Linked DNA regions of Homo sapiens: all the other regions are linked to region 2. The links are contacts of gene promoters, found by promoter capture Hi-C in blood cells and fetal thymus (Javierre and others, 2016). All regions are on one chromosome and are shown on one strand. Each heading gives the region's core, a stretch centred on a gene start or on the middle of the fragment in contact. The rest is flanking DNA. Distances are from core to core; before and after follow the strand shown. Region 1 overlaps PEX7 (peroxisomal biogenesis factor 7). Region 2 holds the start of MAP3K5-AS1 (MAP3K5 antisense RNA 1). Region 3 holds the start of SLC35D3 (solute carrier family 35 member D3).

What was found. Contacts are between HindIII fragments. The CHiCAGO score rates a contact against its expected background, and 5 or more counts as called.
Region 1: a contact is called between a fragment that was not itself captured here and the fragment with the promoter of MAP3K5-AS1 in region 2, in 1 of 17 cell types (total B cells). The highest score is 5.4, in total B cells.
Region 3: the fragment with the promoter of SLC35D3 here is called in contact with the fragment with the promoter of MAP3K5-AS1 in region 2 in 16 of 17 cell types (activated CD4 T cells, non-activated CD4 T cells, total B cells and 13 more); the score reaches 18.5 in activated CD4 T cells.

The regions. Positions count from the first base shown.
Region 1 is chr6:136,889,601-136,892,340 of GRCh38, reverse strand. The region is part of intron 8 of PEX7 (peroxisomal biogenesis factor 7); the gene reads right to left. Among named protein-coding and RNA genes, the nearest start is that of SLC35D3, 31 kb to the left of the region's middle. The HindIII fragment of the contact is 569 bases long and covers 1,005-1,573 here.
Region 2 is chr6:136,627,781-136,630,763 of GRCh38, reverse strand. It overlaps MAP3K5-AS1 (MAP3K5 antisense RNA 1), which reads right to left and starts at 1,650. Exons shown (of 3, transcript NR_125858.1): 1 at 1,488-1,650. All of the region lies in intron 14 of MAP3K5 (mitogen-activated protein kinase kinase kinase 5), which reads left to right. It also overlaps the pseudogene RNA5SP219. The HindIII fragment of the contact is 14,560 bases long and covers 1-2,983 here.
Region 3 is chr6:136,921,026-136,924,216 of GRCh38, reverse strand. SLC35D3 (solute carrier family 35 member D3) reads right to left here and starts at 1,916. Exons shown (of 2, transcript NM_001008783.3): 1 at 1,350-1,916; 2 at 1-332. The coding sequence starts at 1,788. RefSeq lists an enhancer at 2,388-2,894. The HindIII fragment of the contact is 1,879 bases long and covers 804-2,682 here.

The DNA.
Region 1 (2,740 bases), core at 40-2,539, 260 kb before region 2:
CAGGCAGTTTTGATTAACACCCTGAAAGTTCAAATAGGCATGGACCAAGTCAGGTATCCCCTAAACTCTTCAAACTACAGAAAGAATTTCATAAGCCAAAGCCCATGCCAAGAGTCCATTAGTCAGCCACTTACAATAAAAATCCTAAGGAAATTATGAGCCAGAATACATCTGAACTACCATGGCAAGGACTTTGGGAATTTTCTTTTCTCTCTTTTAATATTTTTTATATGCACTTATTGCATCCTCTAGTCTACTCTGCTGTCTCTTTCTAACTTATGTATCACTCAACTCTCTTTCTATAATCACTCAGATTTCCATCCTTTTGCAATGAACCCCCTATAGAACACATGGACTCATGGGCCTATTACTTTACGATCTGTAACATTTTTGGAAGGGATTAAAAAATAGAAGTGGTCGGGCCCGGTAGCACTTTGCAAGGGCAAGGCGGGTGGATCACTTAAGGCCAGGAGTTCAAGCCCAGCCTGGGCAACGTGATGAAACCCTGTCTCTACCAAAAATACAAAAATTAGCCAGGCATGGATGGTGGTGGATGTCTACAGTCCCAGCTACTTGGGAGGCTGAGGCAGGAGGATCGCTTGAGCCCAGGAGGTAGAGGCTGCAGTGAACCGTGATCTGCAGTGAGCCTGAGCAACAGAGTGAGACTCTGTCTCAAAAAAAAAAAAAAAGGGCTGTTGAACAATTTTATAGAGTTAAACTATTCATTCACTCAAAAATATTTACTGATGGTAACATTCATTTATTTGCATGACTGGATTAAAAACTGTTTTTTGGTTTTGGAACTTGTATTAATAACAATAAAAATAAAGTTTAAAACAGAAAAAAACCCTAACTACCTGCTAAATGAAGAATACATGATCAATTGTGAAAAACTACTGAACAATTTTCAAAGGTGTCTCTTGGAATGCTCAATCACTAATACCCAGAAACTCCACAATTACAAACTTTGAAGGTTACATATGATAAAATTCTAGACTTAAGCTTCCTTCTCAAAATGAGTCCATCACAATATTTCATCGAAAACTCTAATCAGATCAGTATTTTAGAGAAGCAGACTTTACTTCATCACAGTAAACATTAAGCCCGGGAACCACATACCACAAAGCCTAGAGTACTCTGACAAATTAAAGAAAATCATCAGGCTGATGGAAGGCCTGCTCTGAGAGTATTTATGGCAGAGATCCACAGGGATGCTGGATGACTTTCTGAAGAATGCCACATCTCAATAAGAGGAGATAAAGGAAAAGAGGCAAAACTCCTATGCGGTTTGTGTATTGCTTACTGGTACAAATCAAAGAATCATGAAATAATTTTTGCAATACAGCTTCAAATAAATGCTTGACTAAAAAAGAAGTAAAACTGGAAGAACTCTACTCATGAAATAGTATCACTATCTTAAGGATAAGAATAGTCTGTGTACATCTGAAGCGTAACTGGTAGCACCAAAATGCACCCACCTAGAGCAAAAGAGCATTTCACCAGTGGATAATGTGACCACATGGGGTTGCTTTAGAACTTCACCCCACACCTAAATGTTGACAATCATTAAGCTTACAGCAGCTGCCTATGCTTTGGTCATTTATTAGTGACATTACCATGAAATACTTAATGTCCTCATCTCTGCAGCTAAGCATTTATGAATAAACCTACTCAGGCTGTCATGTAGTGGAATGTCTGCACTGCTTACAAGGATCTCCTTTATTTAACAACTCTCTCCTCAGCAGAGGGTGGACACGGTGATGGGGGTGAGGAGGGGGAGAAGACAGACACCGACAAAGAGAGAAAAAAACAGAGACAGAGCAGACCAAATAATTCTGTTCCTTTTCTTGTAACTGGACATGAAAGCTTGAGGTAAAAAAAGAAAAAAAAATCAGCCTGCAGGAGGAGGAGGAATGACAAAGTCGGCTGTACAGTTTCAATGCCTTCCATAGGCCACACTGCACACCGTGCTTCTGCCTTTGGGCTCTGGGGGACCCCATAGTCTGAGAAATATTTCCCTGTTTATATTTAAGCTATCTAAGGATGGTTTCTGTTTTACACATGTGTGCACAGACACACATACTGTAAATAATATACTGGAGAAAGATAAGGGACTCTGCTGAATTTTATTTAGGATGAAAATAGATGAATAATTACGGTTTTTTAAATCTCCACGTGGTTCATTCCATTAAGTCCAATGTCTAAGAATTCCATTTTAGAATATTTAGTGTTGCCACACTCTTGACTAGGGTTTCAGGACAGACCTCAAAGGGTGTATTATTCATCCTTATGCTCTCTGGGAACTGTGTAAACTACTACCAGCTGACTGGCAGTACCCAGTTGGTCTAAGTAAATAGGCTTACTATGTGTGCAAATAACGGAGAGAGGGAAAGACAGGTTTTTCTGCTCAATTATCTTTTTCTTAAAAACTATAATTGCACACATTAGAGTCAACTAATTCTACAAGGTTTGTAACAGAAAACAGCAGCTTCCTGCCGTACTTCCTCAATCTTTCACCTCAGAGGCAATCACTCTAAATTCTTTTAGTTGCTTCTTCTAATGTTTTACTCTATATTTCTAAAGAATATGCTCATGGAGCTCATTTATTTTGTCATTTTCAGATATTATCTTTTGACTTCCTACTACGAAAAATGAGAAAAAGCAGTATCTACATTTAAAAAATACAAATACATGCAACAAAATCTACTCAGTTGCCTTATTGAAACCACACAATAGGATT
Region 2 (2,983 bases), core at 401-2,900:
TTATATATCATCTTAGTAAGAAAGAGGGTTAAGACTTTAAGAAAGTGTATGGTGGGAGACTAATGAGAAATAAGTGTGAGGAACAGAAAGTTTTGATAAGGTTTTGTTTATGCAACATCTCCTCTAGGTGCAAGTGGTCTATCTCCTCTTTGGTCATTAACCTCCTGGAGAGGAAATAAATGGCAGATGTATTTTAGGAGGCATTGCTTATGTCCGCAAAAGAAATTTAGATAAGGTTTTTTTCTGCTGCTGCTGTTTTTCTGATGTTTTCAGCCTAAAATCATCTTCATCCACATCAGTGGGTCCAAATGGATCTCACTAATGCACTCACATATTTTTGGACAGCTATTGAATGGTAGGCACCATTCCATGTGCTGGAGAGATGGCAGAGAACAAAATGGAGAGAAATTCCTGCTATCACTGAGAGCTTACATGCTCTCATCTAAGTCTTAATCGGGCCCAACTCTGCTTAGCTTCCGAGATCAGAAGAGATTGGACGCATTCAGGGTGGTATAGCTGTAGACTCAGGTTACTTTCTAATGAGAGACGGACAATAAACACAAATAAGTAAAATACCATCTATAGTATGTTAGATGGTGATCAGGGTTAAGGAGAATAATAAACCAGGGAAGGGTTTAGGAAGTTACAGTGTAGCAGGGACGTGCAATTTTAGATAGGAAGGCCTGGGAAGCTCATTAAGAAGGTAAGATTTAGGCCGGGTGTGGTGGCTCATGCCTGTAATCCCAGCACTTTGGGAGGCAGAGGAGTTGGATTGTTTGAGGTCAGGAGTTTGAGACCAACCTGGCTAAAATGGCGAAACCCCATCTCTACTGAAAATACAAAAATTAGCCGGGCATGGTGGCAAGCGCCTGTAATCCCAGCTACTCGGGAGGCTAAAGCAGGAGAATCGCTTGAACCTAGGCACTCCAGCCTGGGCGACAGAGTGAGACTCTAAATAAATAAATAAATAAATAAATAAATAAATAAATAAATAAATGAAGGTGAGATATGGCCGGGCGCCATGGCTCACACCTGTAATCTCAGCACTTTGGGAGACCAAGGCGGGTGGATCATGAGGTCAGGAGATTGAGACCATCCTGGCTAACAAGGTGAAAGCCCATCTCTACTAAAAATACAAAAAATTAGCTGGGTGTGGTGGCGGGCACCTGTAGTCCCAGCTGCTCGGGAGGCTGAGGCAGGAGAATGGCGTGAACCTGGGAGGCGGAGCTTGCAGCGAGCTGAGATTGTGCCACTGCACTCCAGCCTGGGCGACAGAGCGTGACTCCTTCTCAAAAAAAAAGGTGAGATGTGAGTAAAGATCTAAGGGAGGAGAGATCCATCACACTAGATATTTGTACCTGCAGTGTTTTTGGCATTCTATTAATGTTATTAGTAGTTATTAATGTTTTGGCATTTACATATAAAGAAGGCCATACAGACTGAACATTAACAGAGCTGCCATTTGGGTCTTTGAGGTGATTACTCACCTAATGTGATTAAGCCCCCGCCGAAAGTGCATGGTTTTTTCTAAGGTGGTTGTTTCCTTCGAGAGTGCAAGGACTCAGTGAGTCACCACTTCGTTGTTTGGCCTTGTCAATGTTGCCTTCCTACACTGATTCTCTTCCCGCTACCAGTTTTGATTGTTCTGAGCAGACAGCAATAAAGAGATGATTCTAGAAAAATTCTCATGATTGCCTCAGAATGAAATTCTTGTTTCCCTTAGCAACAACCTGATTTGCTAACCTATTACCATAGAAATAGAATGCAAAATATATAAGCAATGTAATGTTACCTTTTATTTTTTAAAACCCTCTCTTCTACTATTCCTGGACATTACATAGATGATTCTCTGTCCTTCTAGGCTGAACCAGTCTCTTGTTTCTTTTCAGCTTTCTTTCAAAACTGCCATTTCAATTTCTATCTTTATCTCGTAAGAATAGAAAGGGGAGATAGAAAAACAAAGCAGCAATTACCCACAGAGATGGTTTTACTTAAATAACACTGCTCTTTTTACAATTCCTTTTCATTTTACTATCACCATTTTGTTTAACAGGAGTCAGCTTCTATATCTAATCTTCTATATCTAATACATAATCTTTTAAATCTGTATCTAATACGTAATCTTTTAAAAAATAGTCTTCTGATGCCTTAGATTCCTAGGGGAAATTAAAACTTTAGCAGCCTCATCAAGGTTTATGTATTCTTCACTCTTCTATATAAGCATACCTGTTGTAGAGCTGGACCTGGTGGTGTGCACCTGAGTCCCAGCTATTTGGGAGGATCACTTGAGCCCAGGACTTTGAGTCCAGCCTGGGTAACATAGCAGGACTCCATCTCTTTAAAAAAAAAAACTGCTGAGTATGATGGCTCCCACCTGTACTCCCAGTGGTTGGGAGGCCGAGGCAGCAGGATCAGTTGAGGCCAGGAGTTCAAGGCCAGCCTGGGCAACATAGCAAGACCCCATCTCTACAAAAAATAGAAAAAATTAGCTGGACATAGTGCTGTACACCTGAAGTCCCAGCTGTTGAGGAGGCTGAAGTGGGAGGATTGCTTGAACCTAGGAGTTCAAGGCTGCAATGAGCTATGATGGCACCACTGCACTCCGGCCTAGGCGACAGAGCAAAACACTCTTTAAAAAAAAAAAAAGATTTAAATATATCTATTGGAAAAATGCTTTCACCCAAGAATAAACCAATAATGACTCTAAATGTTTTGTTTTGGGATCTAGTTCTTTTCTAAAAAAGTTCTCATCACATTTTTCTATAACTTGATTAATTAGTTAAGCAAATAATTACTGAGCATCTACTACAAGCTACATGCTAAAACTGGGGATAGAGTAATTAAGGATGAAGTCCCAAGTCTCGAAGAGCTCAAGTGTCCAGACGAGGATGACAGAGGTAGCCGTAAGATCTTGAAGGGCATTGTCTTGGTCCATCCAGGCCGCTATAACAAAATGCCTTAGGCTGGGTAATTTATACCCAAT
Region 3 (3,191 bases), core at 667-3,166, 290 kb before region 2:
GAAGCTGGTGGTCACGGCCGAATTGATGTAGGTGCAGTGCAGCGTGGTGAAGTTCATGGCGCAGCCGATCAGGATGCAGGCCACGAAGATGCAGACCATGGCCGGGTCCTTCCAGCCCGGGAAGGTCCAGGCGTGGATGGAGTCGGTGCTGGCGAAGGAGCAGATGACCAGCAGCGGGGTGGCAGAGACGGCGATGACGTACTGCGCGGTGAGCGGCCCGTGCTCGGTGTCTGCGCTGGCCTTCTGGATGAGCACCAGGTAGGCAGCGTGCACCAGCACCGCCAGCACTCCCGTGACGTACCCGATGGGGTCGCCCGTCAGGTCGCCGGCTCCTGCGGCGCACGAGGAGGACGGCCGAGCCCGGGCGGGAAGGAAAAAGAGAGAAGACAGCAGGTTGGCGTGGGCGGGGACCCACGGGGAAAACGCGTCGGGTAGGAAAGGAGACTGGGTTCGCGCCCCAGCTCTGCCCACCGGATTCCTGAGTGACAGACGCCCGCCGTCCCTCGGCCACCCGTGTCAAATGCGACAGCCAAACTCAGTGCTCAGAGCGCCTTCCCGCCATATCCCCGGGTCACTCCATCTTCCTCTGTCCAAGACAAAGGCCCCGGAGAGCGCAGATGCCCTCGGGGCAGGTGCTGTGGCTTCCCCGAGCTGGCACCGAGGTCACTTGGGCGCGTGGTACCTGCACCCCGGAGCCCCTGCCCCGTGGGGCACCAAAGGGAGAGGGAGCCCCAGCCAGTGGCCTGCAACCCGGAGCGGGCCAGGCGCGGGGGAGAACGCCTGTTCTGGCCCCCAGTGAAGCTTCCCCCTGCCCAGGCTCTCGTCTCGCTCAGCACCTGGGTCGTCTGCCCCAGGGCCGCAGCCCCCTGCGCAGCACGAGACACCCCGCAGTAGCCCCGGGAACCCTCAGCTTCGCCCCCATCCCCCACCTCCATTCCAGCCCCTCGTGACCCAAGGAAGTTCACGGCCCCCTCCTTCCGGCTTGGTCCAGGCTTGGAGGACTCCAGCTCCCAGGCTCAGGCGGCCCTCCCACCTCTCCCGGAGAATGGGGTGACAGGGGAAGACCAGGAGAGGGGGCGACAGGAAGGGCGATGCCGGGTGAAGCATGGGCGAGGGTCGGAAGCCAGGACATTAGGGGGCAGGGGGACTTGGTGGGGCGCTGGGGAGCTCTCTGGGTCTCGGAAGTCCCTTTTGCGAGCTGAGCGACCACTCTCAAAGCTCTCCGGCTCTCTCTGCCTCAGTCTCCCCATCTGGAAGTGAGGTCGTTGAACTCAGTGATCCCCGCGGTCTCTGCCCGACGGAGCGGGGTGGGTGGGGTCGGCTGGGGGTCGGCGCGGGGGCCCGCTCACCTGCCAGGGCGGCGCCGCAGGTGGTGATGAGCACCGCCGCCAGCACCCCTGGCGAGGGCGCGCCGTTCTTGAGCACCAGGACGCCGATGAGCATGGTGACCAGGGGCAGGCAGCGCTTGAAGACCACGTACATGGGCAGGCTGAGGCCGCGCAGGGACCAGAGCGTGAGGCTGGACTGCAGCGTGGAGAGCACCGCGACCCCCGCGAAGGAGCGCGCCAGGCTCAGACCGAAGGGGGGCACGGCGATGAGCCCGAGGCGCCGCAGCAGCTCCAGGCTCAGCGCCGCGGTGGAGCTGGTCAGGCACTGCACCAGGGTCAGGAAGGAGAACTGGTAGCGGCTGATGAGGAACTTGAGCAAGATGTTGAGGGAGCCCGAGAAGACCCCGTGCGCGATGGCCACCGAGATGCCCAGCACGCGGCCCCGGCACAGCTGCCGCATCGCGCCGGCCTCGCCGCACCCAGCGGTGGCGGAGCTCCGCGACCTGCGCGCGAGGAGCCGGGAGCAGCGGAGTGAGGGCGGCGGGGGCGCCCGCCCAGCGCGGCGGCGAAGGGCAGGGGGCGCCGGCTCGGCTGCAGAGGGCAGCTCCGGCCAGGCGTTCTTGCGGTTAGGCAGCTCTGCGTCCGACTGCCCCGCAGCTCCGGGGAGGCAGTGACGAGGGCGGGGGACTCCGAAAAGTGGCAGAGGTGGCGGGGGGGCCGGTCTGAGAGGAGTGGCGGGAATCCTAGCGACAGCTATTTGTAAGTGGGTGATGAGCCGCGGTGGGTTGTGTCCCGCGCGGTTTCACCGTCAGGGAAGACGCTCTGCGGAGGGAAGCGGGCGGCTGGGCGCCCCGGGGCGGCTGCCGCAGGGCGGGACGGGGGCTCTTGGGGCGCGGCGCCCCTCTCCCCCCACAGAGCCAGCGGCTCTCGCTTGCCCCTTCCTCCTGGCCGAGGGGCTTGGGTTGGAGGGATCGGGACACAGCTAAAGATTTTAGAAACAGCGCATCAGGATCGAGCGCCGTTTATTGGTCGCAACAAGTGACGGCGCCCCCAGCCCCCTCGCCCCGGCGCTGCAGCGGCTTTTTCCACCCACTGTCCCTCCCGGTGCAGCGGCGGGACCTCGTCCAGCTGCCCGCCAGGGAAGCGAAAACCGTCGGTGCCGGCGGGCCCCCGAAGCTCCCGATCCCGGCGACGACGCCCGGGCATCGGAGGAGGAACCCGCGGCCCGGGGCGCTGTCCAGGGGGTGCCTCGGAGCCCGGAAGCTGGCTCCTTCCGGTGCCAGGCCACGCGCACCGCTCTCCGCACGCCTTCCAGAGAGGGTCCCGGGATTATGCGCGCGGCTCCGGGGAAGCTTTCAGGGGGTTCAGTGGTCTCGCCCAGCAGCGGGGCCTGGTGGCGGGGACACATTCGAACTGAGGCAAAGATGAAAATAAGCAAACGCGCAGAAACGAAGTCACTAACACGAGTAGCCACCACCAGGAACCGAGGAGCTCGGGGGCGACGCTTCCCGAAGCGTGGGAGGGGAGGCTGGCTGCGCTCGCAGAATGGGAGAGTAGAGGGGGAGGGGGCGGGAACCCGGGGCCCCTCACCCTGCAGGGAGACTCCGCGTGGCGTTCTCCGGATCCCAGGGAACTGATCCCAGGGAACCCTCACCCTGCGGGACCGTCGTGGGTTGCTTTCGGAAGCAGGACAACCGGCAGGCGGAGGGCGGGGAGAGTCACCACCTCCCTGGGCCAGGGTTCACACCTTTGCACCACAGGACTTGTGAACTGTGTGTTTCCTATATGACTAAGAGAAAAAGGGAATTCTAATTTTGGAGAGGGAGTAAGGCTTCGGTAACTCTTTGTTCTGAATTCAGTTCC